Linked DNA regions of Homo sapiens: regions 1, 2 and 4 are each linked to region 3. Evidence: promoter capture Hi-C in 16 types of primary human blood cells and fetal thymus (Javierre and others, 2016). All regions are on one chromosome and are shown on one strand. Each heading gives the region's core, a stretch centred on a gene start or on the middle of the fragment in contact. The rest is flanking DNA. Distances are from core to core; before and after follow the strand shown. Region 1 overlaps RABEP1 (rabaptin, RAB GTPase binding effector protein 1). Region 2 overlaps RABEP1 (rabaptin, RAB GTPase binding effector protein 1). Region 3 holds the start of USP6 (ubiquitin specific peptidase 6). Region 4 overlaps RABEP1 (rabaptin, RAB GTPase binding effector protein 1).

Region 1 (3,017 bases), core at 498-2,997, 240 kb after region 3:
CTTTTGTATTCATATACATTTGTTAATGTTTCTAATGGATGTGTAACATTATAAAAACTTTTTTGGGTGGGGTGTGGTGTCTCATGCCTGTAGTCCCAACGCTTTGGGAGGCCAAGGTGGGAGGATCGCTTGAGCCTGGGAGTTTGAGACCAGCCAGGACAACAGCGTGAGACCCCATCTATGCAAAAAAACCAAAAAATTAGCCAGGCATGGTGGTGCATGCCTGTGATCCCGGCTACACGAGAGGATGAGGCAGGAGGATTGCTTGAGCCCAGGAGTTCAAGACCAGCCTGGGCAACAATGTGAAACCCCGTCTCTACAAAAAATAAAAAAATTAGGCGGGCGTGGTGGCACATGCCTATGATTCCAGCTATGTGGAGAGGATGAGGTGGGAGAATTGCTTGAACCCAGGAGGTTGAGGCTGCAGTGAACCATATTTGCACCACTGCATTCCAGCCTGAGTGTCAGAGCAAGACCTTGTCTCAAAAACAAACTTTTTCATATTTATTTTCTACAGTAATCACAAGGAATGTTCTGTGTAAATTTTTTTTTTCAAGGATCATTTGAAGAGGCGGTTTTGCTTTCTTTTATTTTGCCTTACTTTATACAGTATACTTTTCTTGGAAGCTGCTTCCTGATTTCTTCTTTATACCAGTGTTCTTAGTTTGTGCTTATAATATTAAAATATTTTGTAATGGCCAGAGGCCCTTAGATGGGATTACAAAACAAAGAAGCGTAAGTATCCAGTTTTCTCTTATCATAACGCTCTGTTCTTTATTTGTTTTGAATGGTTAAAGAACTGTGTCACTTATTAAGTAGGTTACTTGGGTCATATATATGTTTTTTTCTTCCTTTTAGGAGGATGATGAACAACAAAGACTCAATAAGAGAAAGGATCACAAAAAAGCAGATGTTGAGGAAGAAATAAAAATACCAGTAGTGTGTGCTTTAACTCAAGAAGAATCTTCAGCCCAGTTATCAAATGAAGAGGTATAGTGAGTCTATAATTAAAGTCATTAAATACACAATGTCAACAATTTTAGCTTACTCATACATCAGTTAATTACATTGTTCATATGAGAAGTGAGAAGTGCATAGCTACGAGGTGAAAGTTAGATAAAAATGACAGTATTTTCAGTTGTTTTTATGGCATTATAGGTAGCACTATTTGAAACATGTTGCAGCTTCATTCGCTGTCTGAAATAGATGTTCTTTTTTCCAGTATTTCCAAAATTTAATACATTAGAATAAACCTTTAAATAATGTCTGCAAAATCTTTTTTGATGTGAATAGTACATGTTGCTAATACTTGTCTTTTTTGTTTAAAAAGAGATTATCTAAAGCGCTGAAATGCTTAACTCCCTGTAGCATATATGAGAGTATTAACCAGTATTAGGTTTTCATCCCTGACGGCCATGGGTGAGGTTTGGCAGATAACACCACAGGGTAAAATGTTTCAGGTACTAGGAATGGGTAGAGTAGAGAGACCTGGAAGTGTTAGGTGTTCTGTGGCCTTGTCACCTCTCACCTACAGTGTGGCAAGGGCCTCCTCATTGGGTTTCCTGCCTCAACCTGTCCCATTCCACTGCGTCCTCAGCATTACTGTCAAATTCATTTTCTTAAGTGCAGCTGCAGTCAGGCCACTCCCCTACTCAAAAACTACCATTGACTCCCATTACCTATATAATTAAGCACACATTCCTCACTCTGACAATTAAGGCCCTTCATCATCTGGATTACATTTTAGCCATGTTGGTCATCATCTTGGGCTGTATTCCCACTTGGTCTGTTGGTTCCTTCATTTGGAGTACTTTCCTCCCATTGCCTTTCTGAGTATTGAAATCCTTCTACTCATCTTTCAAAGCTCATCTTGTTATCAGTGAAGGAACTGCTTCTCTTATTGCCTTTAGAATAAAAACTAAGATCCCCCAAGATCCCTAGCATGGCATACAAGGGCATTCACAGTTGAATGGCCCTTCCAGCCTCACTTACTGCTCTCCACCTCTCTGTAGCCAGACCTGTGCACTTACTGTTCATGCTCATGTGGCCTGTCCCTGCGGCTTAGAATCACACTCACTTCCCTGCGGCACCTCCTTTCCTGGCCTGGTGAATGAATTGCACTTAAATTGGATACAGGTCTTGTCTTTACTTTCAGGGGTATCATGTTTCTATTTACTTTGCAGATTTACTTTGAGCCATACATAATCTACATCCTGGTGGTTATATATATGCCCATGCTTACAGATTGTTTGATGTTTAAGAAAAACTTAAAAAAAATTTTAGTAGACACTAAAAAGTGCTGTATATTGAAGTTGTTTTGTTCATTCTTTGTTCTGGGACATAGACTGGGAACCACTTGGTCTAATTCTGCTGTGCATTTTAAAAATATTTAGACTCCCAAGAGAATGTCTCAAGTTTTGGGTACAGCCAATGATTACATAGTGTTTTCATCATGCAGTAATCTATCCAGGAATGTTTGAAAAGTGGGAAAACAGGAAAGGGACATTTGTTGTGATTTACAGAGAAGTATTTTTATTTTTGATTCTCTCTTAACAGATCCGTAGACTTTCAGAGCTGGTGTTTTGCAGTTTGAATGTTGAATATAATTGTTTTGTATTGAGAATAATGACACAACTCTTGGTTTAGAGTTAATCTGAAGCCTAGCTAACATGGTGTGAAACCCTATCTCTACTAAAAATACACAAATTAGCTGGGCGAGGTGGTGGATCCCTGTAATCCCAGCTACTCAGGTGACTGAGGCATGAGAATTGTTTGAACCCGGGAGGTGGAGGTTGCAATGAGCTGAGATTTTGCTACTGCACTCCAGCCTGGATGACAGTGAGATCCTGTCTCACACACACAAAAGTTAATCTGAGATGCTTTGGAGAGTTGGATTTATGGCTAAAGATATTTGAAATTTGTAGACCTCACATTTTCTTTAACCTGATGCTTATAATATGCTTTTCTCTCTACAAAATGTTCATTATGGAAAATTTGGGAAGTATAGAAAACACCAT
Region 2 (3,169 bases), core at 1-2,500, 210 kb after region 3:
AATTAGCTGGGCGTGGTGGCACGCGCCTGTAATCCCAGCTACTTGGGAGGCTGAAGCAGGACAATCTGTTGAACCCGGGAGGCAGAGGTTGCAGTGAGCCAAGATCGTGCCACTGCACTCTAGCCTGGGCAACAAGAGCGAGACTCCGTCTCAAAAAAATAAATAAGCATGGCAAATCTTAATACCTTTTGAGTCTTGGTGAAAGCTATATGAAGGATTGTTGTAGTATACCCTCAACTTTTGAATATGTTTGAAAATCTTAATAATTACATATACAGCAGTAAAAGCAATAAACGAATGTTAGAACTCCTACTGTTGGCAAACATAATGTTTGAAATGCTTTACTACAAAAAATTAAGATTTTCTAACTTTATTTTAAATTTCTGTCTCCTGTTTTTTTGTATTTATATATATAAATATAACATTCATATATATGTTCATATATATATATATATATATATATATAACTAAAGTTACTGTTGACCAAGTCTTCCTCCAGGCTCTCTATTTCACTTTTAAGTGCCAAAAATGGATATTTAGGCTTGGTATTTGTTTACAGTTTTTCTGTTCATAATGACAACATGGTAGTGAATAGCTCTGGGTAATCTCCAGCAAATCAAAAGTACCAGAGGTAATTAGCATGAGGACCTGTTAAGTGTATAAACTTGAGCCTTGATAAAATTGTAGTACCCAAAAATGAATAAAGTATCCCAGAAATAATGCTTTTTCTTTTTTCACATTTTATGAAACAGTTTAACACTCAGAATACAGAGTTGACACACATAAACTTTTCCTTTGTGGTTTCACGTGTTTACATCTTTCTGGGTCTGTCTATTTGCATGCCTACCACAACTTCCCAGGTGTCTGTCTTTAAGGGACTTCACACAATTACTTTTTTAATTAATGTTCTTAAAACTGTCTTTGGCTAGAGATTCAAAATATTTTAAGAGTGATGGAAACTGATGTTGAGAGAGTAAAGATTTCAAAACAACTTAGCATGACTAGGTGTTTCCCTCTGTGACTTTGACTACCAAATCATTAACTCCTGTGATAACAATGAACATTTCACAACGTTTAAAAGTTCTCTTATTTTACTATTGGATTTTTATAAGTAGTTAGAAATTTATGCAAGAAAGTATTGCCACTGTCTTCATGAGGAAACTGAGGCTTGAGAATCTTGTGATTTCCTTAAAGTCATACAGCTGGTTAGCGGTAGAATTAGACCTTAAATCAGTTTATTTTCATGGTCAGTTTGGCTCAGTTATTGTGCTTTGGAGAGGAAATTGATACTTTTACAAAGATGAAGAATTTTTTTTTTCATAAATACCTTACAACTTTAGATGCTAAAAGGCGTAAGTTAAGGCCGGGCGCGGTGGCTCACACCTGTAATCCCAACGCTTTGGGAGGCTGAGGCGGGAGGATCATTTCAGCCCAGGAGGCCAAGACCAGCCTGGGCAGCGTAGTGAAACTTTGTCTCTACAAGAAATTTCAAAAATTAGCCGGGCGTGATGGTGCATGCCTGCAGTCCTAGCTACTCAGGAGGCTGAGGTGGGGGGATCGCTTGAGCCCAGGAATTTGAGGTTATAGTGGTCTATGTTTGCGTCACTGCACTCCAGCCTGTGCGACAATTGAGACCCTATCTCTTAACTTTTTTTTTTTTTTTTTTTTTTTTTTTTAAAGAAACACAGCGGCTGACTGGGAAAAGTTTTGTAAGAGAAGACAGACTTAATATCCAGAATATATAAAATGCTCTTACAGATCAGAAGGAAAATCATTCATTAGAAGCAAATGTAAAGAATGTCACCAAAGAGGAAATGAGTCACTAGTACATATATGAGAAGATGCTCAAACTCCTTATTAACAGGGAAAATGTAGATTAAAGTGACCATTTGCTACCCATGATATTTACAAGAATTTTTAAAAGATGGAAAATAGTGACTGTTGTTAAGGGTATGGGAAAACAATCACACATCCCTGTATACTGTTGATAAGTTCATCTTTTTTTTGAAGTTAGTTTGGCCAAACATATGTTCTGCCTGGGCTTAAACCATGTAGTAGGCACATTACATCAACTTAGTATTTAAAAGATGGTAAGAGGGAGCCGAGAAATTAATGCTAACTTTAAAGAACATACGTCTAGTCACTGCCATGTGCTCTGGCTTTCTTTTCTCTTTTATTAAACATTTTTTGAATGTTTGTGGAAGGTAATGTACTAATTAGCGTTTCCAATAAATTATCATTACAACAACCTTGTGAGGTGGCTGTTTTTAACTTCCATTTTGCAGATGTGGAAACTTAGGCCAGAGAGATTAAATAACATGACCAAGTTCATTTAGTCAGCAGACGGGAATGCGTAAATTGAGCTCTAAAACCATGACTGTAACTACTGGATCATTAGATAGATAGTAACAATTGATTTGTGATACCCAGCTTACCTTAAATCTCACCTCTATTAAAAGGGTGTCATTTTGTATGTTTATATTTTAAAATTTAATACCTTATTTCTTTATTGGAATGCCAGTCTGATCAAAGTGAACATTAATGGACTATCTTTTACTTTTCTCTCCAGAGGATCTGAAGAGGCAAAATGCAGTATTACAAGCTGCACAAGATGATTTGGGACACCTTCGAACCCAGCTGTGGGAAGCTCAAGCAGAGATGGAGAATATTAAGGCGATTGCCACAGTCTCTGAGAACACCAAGCAAGAAGCTATAGATGAAGTGAAAAGACAGTGGAGAGAAGAAGTTGCTTCACTTCAGGCTGTTATGAAAGGTAAAGACAGAGAAAGATCAATTTTGTGATTTTCTAAGATATCCGATTCTGATGATTGAGAATATTTTCAGAGAATCTTAAAATATATACAGAGTTTCATTTGTGGTTTTATGTACTGTCATCATCAAGATATACTTTCAGATAAAAGAGAAGTCACTAATAACATAAATGGATATATCAATCGTATCTAACTTAATAATGGAGAGTTATAATAGGGATGTTATAGAGATAATGCATTAAATGAGGACTATAGTTCATTGTAAGGCTTAAAAGTCGATTTCTTCTAGGAGGCAGGCTAGTAATCTCAAATAATTAAGCTGTATGGGCACAGGGAATGTGCTGGAGTAGAGAGAGCTGCCATGCAAAGGGTAAAGTAACTGTTTACATTGATGAGCT
Region 3 (2,889 bases), core at 96-2,595:
GGGTGTGGTGGTGGGTGCCTGTAATCCCAGCTAATTGGGAGGCTGGGGCTGGAGAATTACTTGAACCTGGGAGGTGGAGGTTGCAGTGAGCCGAGATCGGGCCACTGCACTCCAGCCTGGCAGCAGTGTGAGACTCCGTCCCAAAAAATAACAAACAAACAAAAAAGACACCAGAGGGCTTTGGGTCCCTCTCTCTCTGCCATGTGAGGACCCTGTGAGAAGGCAGCCAGGGAGCTCTCACCAGAACCTGACCATGTTGGGCCCTGGTCACAGCCTTGCAGCCTCCAAAACTGAGAAAATAAATTTCTGTTGTCTGGCATCCAGTCTATGGTATTTTGTTACGGCAGCCCGAGCTAAGACAGAGGAAAACTGGGGGCTGATGTGACGGCGGGGACTTTAGGTAGAAGGACCCCACGTCAAAAGTCAAAGCTAAAAATTCTGGAACGAGCCAGGAAGGCATCAGGACGTCTCATTTTATTTGCTAGAGGCATCTTTTGGGGGGTGGGGCGGTGGGTGGGTGGAAGGAGATGTGGCCAGTGAGCCTCTGACTTTTAATTGAGTTATTTCGAAACAAGGAACAGAGGGCCGGATGTGGTGGGTCGTGCCTGTAATTCCAGCACTTTGCGAGGCCGAGGCCAGTGGATCACCTGAGGTCAGGAGTTCAAGACCAGCCTGGCCAACATGGTGAAACCCTCTCTCTACTAAAAATACAAAATTAGCCTGGCGTGGTGGGGGGCGCCTGTAATCCCAGCTACTCGGGAGGCTGAGGCGGGACAACAGCTTTAACCCGGGAGGCGGAGGTTACAGTGAGCCGAGATGGCGCCACTGCACTCCGGCTTGGGCAACAGAGCAAGACTCCGTCTCCAAAAACACACACACACACACACACAAAACCCAAAACGGAACAGAGGCAGTTCTGTATTCCAGAGGGATTGATTTGTGATGCCTGCTCAAAACTCAAGAAGCCACCACCCTGATACTCATCAAACCCCGGAGAAATTTCGTTTTTAGAGTGTCAGAAGGCCCCATGAATAACCTTCCAGTCACTGAGGGAGGTCCCTACTCAGCACGCCCCGGTCTCCTTCACTCTCCTGCACTCGTGCCTCACAGATGGCCTCATGCGCGGACTGGCGGTCCAGCCTCCCGGGGACACAGCCCGGGCGCACCCCGCGCCGCCTTTGGCCACTGAGGCGGTCCTCGAGGCGCCGGGCTAGGGAAAGCCTCCCCGGCCGTCAAGGCTGGGATAGCGCCGGGGGATCGGGGCGGGGTGCGTGCGCCGAAAGGGCCTCAAAGCTGTAGGGCTGGACGGCACAAAGGGGCGCAAGGCACGGAGGCCAGGCAGAGGGGACAGCTAGCGGCGCGGCGGGACGGGCGGGCCCCGACGCCCAGCTCCAAATGCGTGGCCGCTGTGGGAGCTCGTCTCCAGGCGCCCATCAGTCTTCCCCTCACTCGACGCTACCTTGGCGGCCGCGCCCATGCTGTCCCCGCTCCAACTAGCAGTCAGGAGGGGCCGCGGGCAGCGCTCGAGACGCTCATTGAGAGGACTTCCCGCCTGCGGGCTCTCTGCTCGACGCCACTCCCGGCCCCGCTCCGGGCGGCCCCCCTCACCACTCCCGGCCCCGCTCCCGGCGGCCCGCCTCACCACTCCCGGCTTCCCGGGGCTTAGGCCCGCACCATCGAGTCGAACCGAGTCCTCATGTTTTCCTAGACAAGCCGCTGGGGGAGAGGGGAAACACTTCTGGCCCATGTGAGCCGCCGTCTCGTGTGGTGTCTGAGGGGCGTCTACCTGGAGTCACTGAGCCGACGAAAGGGAAAAGGCCAGTGCCTGTCCGGGAAGAGCTCAGCCTAGTGGGGCGGGCGACAAGTTACAGTTGCTGCCTTACGATGGCCGTGGCCCGTGGAGGCACTAGACCCTCACCAGGGGTCTGTCAGGAAAGGCGGGCAGATACGTGAGGCCTGAACAGGAAGGAACTGGGAGACCCAAGACTGTACCGCCAAGACCGCTTTCGAGTCGGGCCGACCGGAATTTGAATTCGTTTCTTCACTTACTAGTTGTGAGTCTTTGGGCAAATTTGCCTTTCTAGAGCGTAGTTTCTTATGTATAAAACAGGGTTAACAGTTGCACTCACTGAGGTAAATACAAGAGAAAATTGATGGTAAGTGCTTATCACGGTACCCAACACATAGCAAGTACTGAAAAGTGATGGAGCTAGGTACGGAGGGAGCAATCTTCACAGAGGGAACAGCTCGTGGAAAGGCCACAGGGCAAGAGGGCGGTGCCTACATTCTTGGGGAACTGCAGAGAGTTCATGGGTAAATAATAGGAAGGAAAGGTAAGTACTTTGCAGAAAGCCTTCCCCAGCTAGGTGAGACTCCCCACTGTAGTATCATATGCCTCTCCTTTTTGGCACTTATGGTTGCAACTTTATTAATGATTCTAATTAGTTTCTCTTCTACAATTATAAGTTCCATCAGGCCAGAGACTTGTCCATTTATGCTCACCCTGCTTTGTAGCACCCGCTGCTTAACACATATTAAAAGCTCGATAAGCCTGGGCGAGGGGGCTCAAGCCTCTAATCCCAGCACTTTGGGAGGCCGAGGCGGGTGGATCATGAGGTCAGGAGTTTGAGACCAGCCTGACCAACATGGTGAAACCCCCTCTCTACAAAAAATACAAAAATTAGCCGGGTGTGGAGGCACACACCTGTAATCCCAGCTACTCAGGAGGCTGAGGCAGGAGAATCACTTGAACCCGGGAGGCAAAGGTTGCAGTGAGCTGAGATTGCACCACTGCACTCCAGCCTGGGCGACAGAGCGAGACTCCGTCTCAAAAAAAAAAAAAAAAAGCTCAATAAATATTTACAGCACAAGTGAATAAATGGGGTCGCA
Region 4 (2,725 bases), core at 128-2,627, 190 kb after region 3:
TAATCCAATATTTAACAGTTCTAAAATTAAATTGCTATTCAGTTGCACAAAGGCACTTTAGAAGCTCTTTTTTTTGTGGGGAAGTTGGCCTTATGTGATTCTCTGTATATTTGTGGTTTCACTTTACATGACTCATTTACAGTTGTGTATTAAGTCTAATACAAGGATCTTTTTTTTTTTTTTTGAGACAGAGTCTCACTCTGTCACCCAGGCTAGAGTGCAGTGGTGCGATCTCGGCCCACTGCAACCTCCGCCTCCCGGGTTCAAGCGATTCTCCTGCCTCAGCCTCCTGAGTAGCTGGGATTACAGGCACCTGCCACTACACCTGGCTAATTTTTGTATTTTTAATAGAGATGGGATTTCTCCATGTCGGCCAGGCTGGTCTCGAACTCCTGACCTCGGGTGATCCGCCCGCCTCGGCCTCCCAAAGTGCTGGGATTACAGGCGTGAGCCACCATGCCTGGTCTGTCTTACTTTTTTTAAACATTAGAATATCCTAGCATATGGTGGATTTTTGGAAGAAGCTTGACTACTTGTTTCACGTATAGCAATGTACAGCTAGAATACTAATTTACTGTTTTATAAATTTATGAATAAAAGTTATTACTTGTTAACTAGTGTTTTTTTCCCCCAGTTTCTCTTCAGCAACGGGTAGCAGAATTGGAAAAAATTAATGCAGAATTTTTACGTGCACAACAGCAGCTTGAACAAGAATTTAATCAAAAGAGAGCAAAATTTAAGGAGTTATATTTGGCTAAAGAGGGTAAGTTCATAAGTCTCGCACCAACTTCAATGCGAAAACTGCCTTAAAGTGTTGAGTTTCTTGGTAGTAGTGTTAATTTTATCATTGAATAAACCTTGATTTTATTTGTACTTGCATAATAAAAGAATACTGTTTAAAGGCTAGGTTAAGAATGGGATTGAAAAACAAGTTGAAAAATGCCTTCTTCAGATTTTGCCTTGTTTTTTGATCTTACTGTTCATATTTAGGTTGCATAGCCTTGAGATAAGAGAATGTTATTGCTCTTAACATTTGGGATACAGTTGTGGGCAAACTAGGATTGTTGGCATTCTAATAACAGCTTTAGCTATGTTATCTTTAATTCCATGAAACATCAGTTTTACCCAACAAATATTCAGTTATTTATCAATAAATATTTATTTAATATCTACTATGAGGCAGACATTATACTTGTGTTGGGTATACAGAAAGAGGAAAATTCATGTGGTTCTTTAACTTGGTTGAACTCAATGAGCAAAACAGATGTTAAGTAATTGTGTGATGAGTCGTTAAAACAGGAAATTGCAGGCTGGGCGCGGTGGCTCACACCTGTAATCCCAGCACTTTGGGAGGCCAACGGGCGGGGGCGGATCACCTGAGGTCGGGAGTTCAAGTCCAGCCTGGCCAACATGGAGAAACCCTGTCTGTACTAAAAATACAAAATTAGCTGGGCATGGTGGCGCATGCCTGTAATCCCAGCTGCTCGGGAGGCTGAGGCAGAAGAATTGCTTGAACCCAGGAGGCAGACGTTGAGGTGAGCTGAGATTGCGCCATTGCACTCCAGCGTGGGCGACAAGAGTGAAACTCCCATCTCAAAAAAAAAAAAAAAAGAAAAAGAAACTGTATAAGGAAAATACATGAGAGAACATGTTGGGGGACCTGATTTGAAGGATCAGGGAAGGGGCTTACCTTCTGAGTATCGACCTAGAATAATGTGAATGTAGTTTCCACAGCTCTCTAGACCAGTGATTCTCAAAGTGTGATTGTGGAACAGCATCATTATCGTCATCATCACCTGGGAAAGTTGTTAGAAATGCAAATGTTTGGGTCCCACCCAGATTTACTGAGTTAGAAACTGTGGGATTTGGGTCCAGCTGCACACTAAATTTTGAAAACTGCTCTAGTCTATAATAGAATAGTGGCTCTCAAATTCAAATGTGGATAAAAATCACCTGGAGAGCTTGTTAAACCACAGTATGTTTGGGTGGAGCCCAGAAATTTGCATTTCTAATAAGCTCATAGATGATTCCAGTTACTGCTAGTTCAAGTACTACAGTTTGAAAAATCCTGTTCTGGACTAGTGATCATGCACCTTTTTTAACTTATGAACTCTGTAAAATATATACTTACATACAACCTTCATACATGTTAAAGTTGATGTTTAAAATTTTTTGCTTGAAAAGATGTGAAGGATAAAATTTTATATTGTTGATATTTACAATTTAAATGAAAGCTTCGTCCTTTTTTTTTTTTTTTTTTGAGATGGGAGTCTCCCCCGACATCTTCCCCTGTCACGCAGGCTGGAGTTCAGTGGCACTATCTCAGCTCACTACAACCTCCGCCTCCCATATTCAAGTGATTCTCCTGCCCTGCCCCAGCCTCCCGAGTAGCTGGGATTACAGGTGTGTGCCACCATGCCCGGCTAATTTTTGTATTTTTAGTAGAGACGGGGTTTCACCATGTTGGTCAGGCTGGTCTCAAACTCCTGACCTTGTGATCCGCCCGCTTCGGCCTCCCAAAGTGCTGGGTGAGCCACCACGCCTGGCCAACTTCCTGCTTTTAAACATATCCAGTGGAATGAAAATATCAGTGATTTATCCATTGTTATCTGTTTAACAAACACATGAATAGCTTTATAGCCGAAATTTTACAGTGGTTTTCCTCCTTGCGTTGGGTTTTCTTCTTTACATCTCCTTTAGAATTTTTTTCTTAAAAATGGTTTTG

Evidence for each region. Contacts are between HindIII fragments. The CHiCAGO score rates a contact against its expected background, and 5 or more counts as called.
Region 1: a contact is called between a fragment that was not itself captured here and the fragment with the promoter of USP6 in region 3, in 2 of 17 cell types (naive B cells and total B cells). The highest score is 5.4, in naive B cells.
Region 2: a fragment that was not itself captured here is called in contact with the fragment with the promoter of USP6 in region 3 in 2 of 17 cell types (naive B cells and total B cells); the score reaches 6.8 in naive B cells.
Region 4: a fragment that was not itself captured here is called in contact with the fragment with the promoter of USP6 in region 3 in 2 of 17 cell types (total B cells and naive B cells); the score reaches 7.7 in total B cells.

The regions. Positions count from the first base shown.
Region 1 is chr17:5,353,501-5,356,517 of GRCh38, forward strand. It overlaps RABEP1 (rabaptin, RAB GTPase binding effector protein 1), which reads left to right. Exons shown (of 18, transcript NM_004703.6): 8 at 859-990. Among named protein-coding and RNA genes, the nearest start is that of NUP88, 65 kb to the right of the region's middle. The HindIII fragment of the contact is 8,608 bases long and covers 1-3,017 here.
Region 2 is chr17:5,329,380-5,332,548 of GRCh38, forward strand. RABEP1 (rabaptin, RAB GTPase binding effector protein 1) reads left to right here. Exons shown (of 18, transcript NM_004703.6): 3 at 2,570-2,773. Among named protein-coding and RNA genes, the nearest start is that of RABEP1, 49 kb to the left of the region's middle. The HindIII fragment of the contact is 8,927 bases long and covers 1-3,169 here.
Region 3 is chr17:5,114,687-5,117,575 of GRCh38, forward strand. USP6 (ubiquitin specific peptidase 6) reads left to right here and starts at 1,346. Exons shown (of 38, transcript NM_001304284.2): 1 at 1,346-2,054. It also overlaps a transcript of ZNF232 not described here. The HindIII fragment of the contact is 5,308 bases long and covers 1-2,889 here.
Region 4 is chr17:5,308,060-5,310,784 of GRCh38, forward strand. RABEP1 (rabaptin, RAB GTPase binding effector protein 1) reads left to right here. Exons shown (of 18, transcript NM_004703.6): 2 at 635-763. Among named protein-coding and RNA genes, the nearest start is that of RABEP1, 27 kb to the left of the region's middle. The HindIII fragment of the contact is 1,710 bases long and covers 523-2,232 here.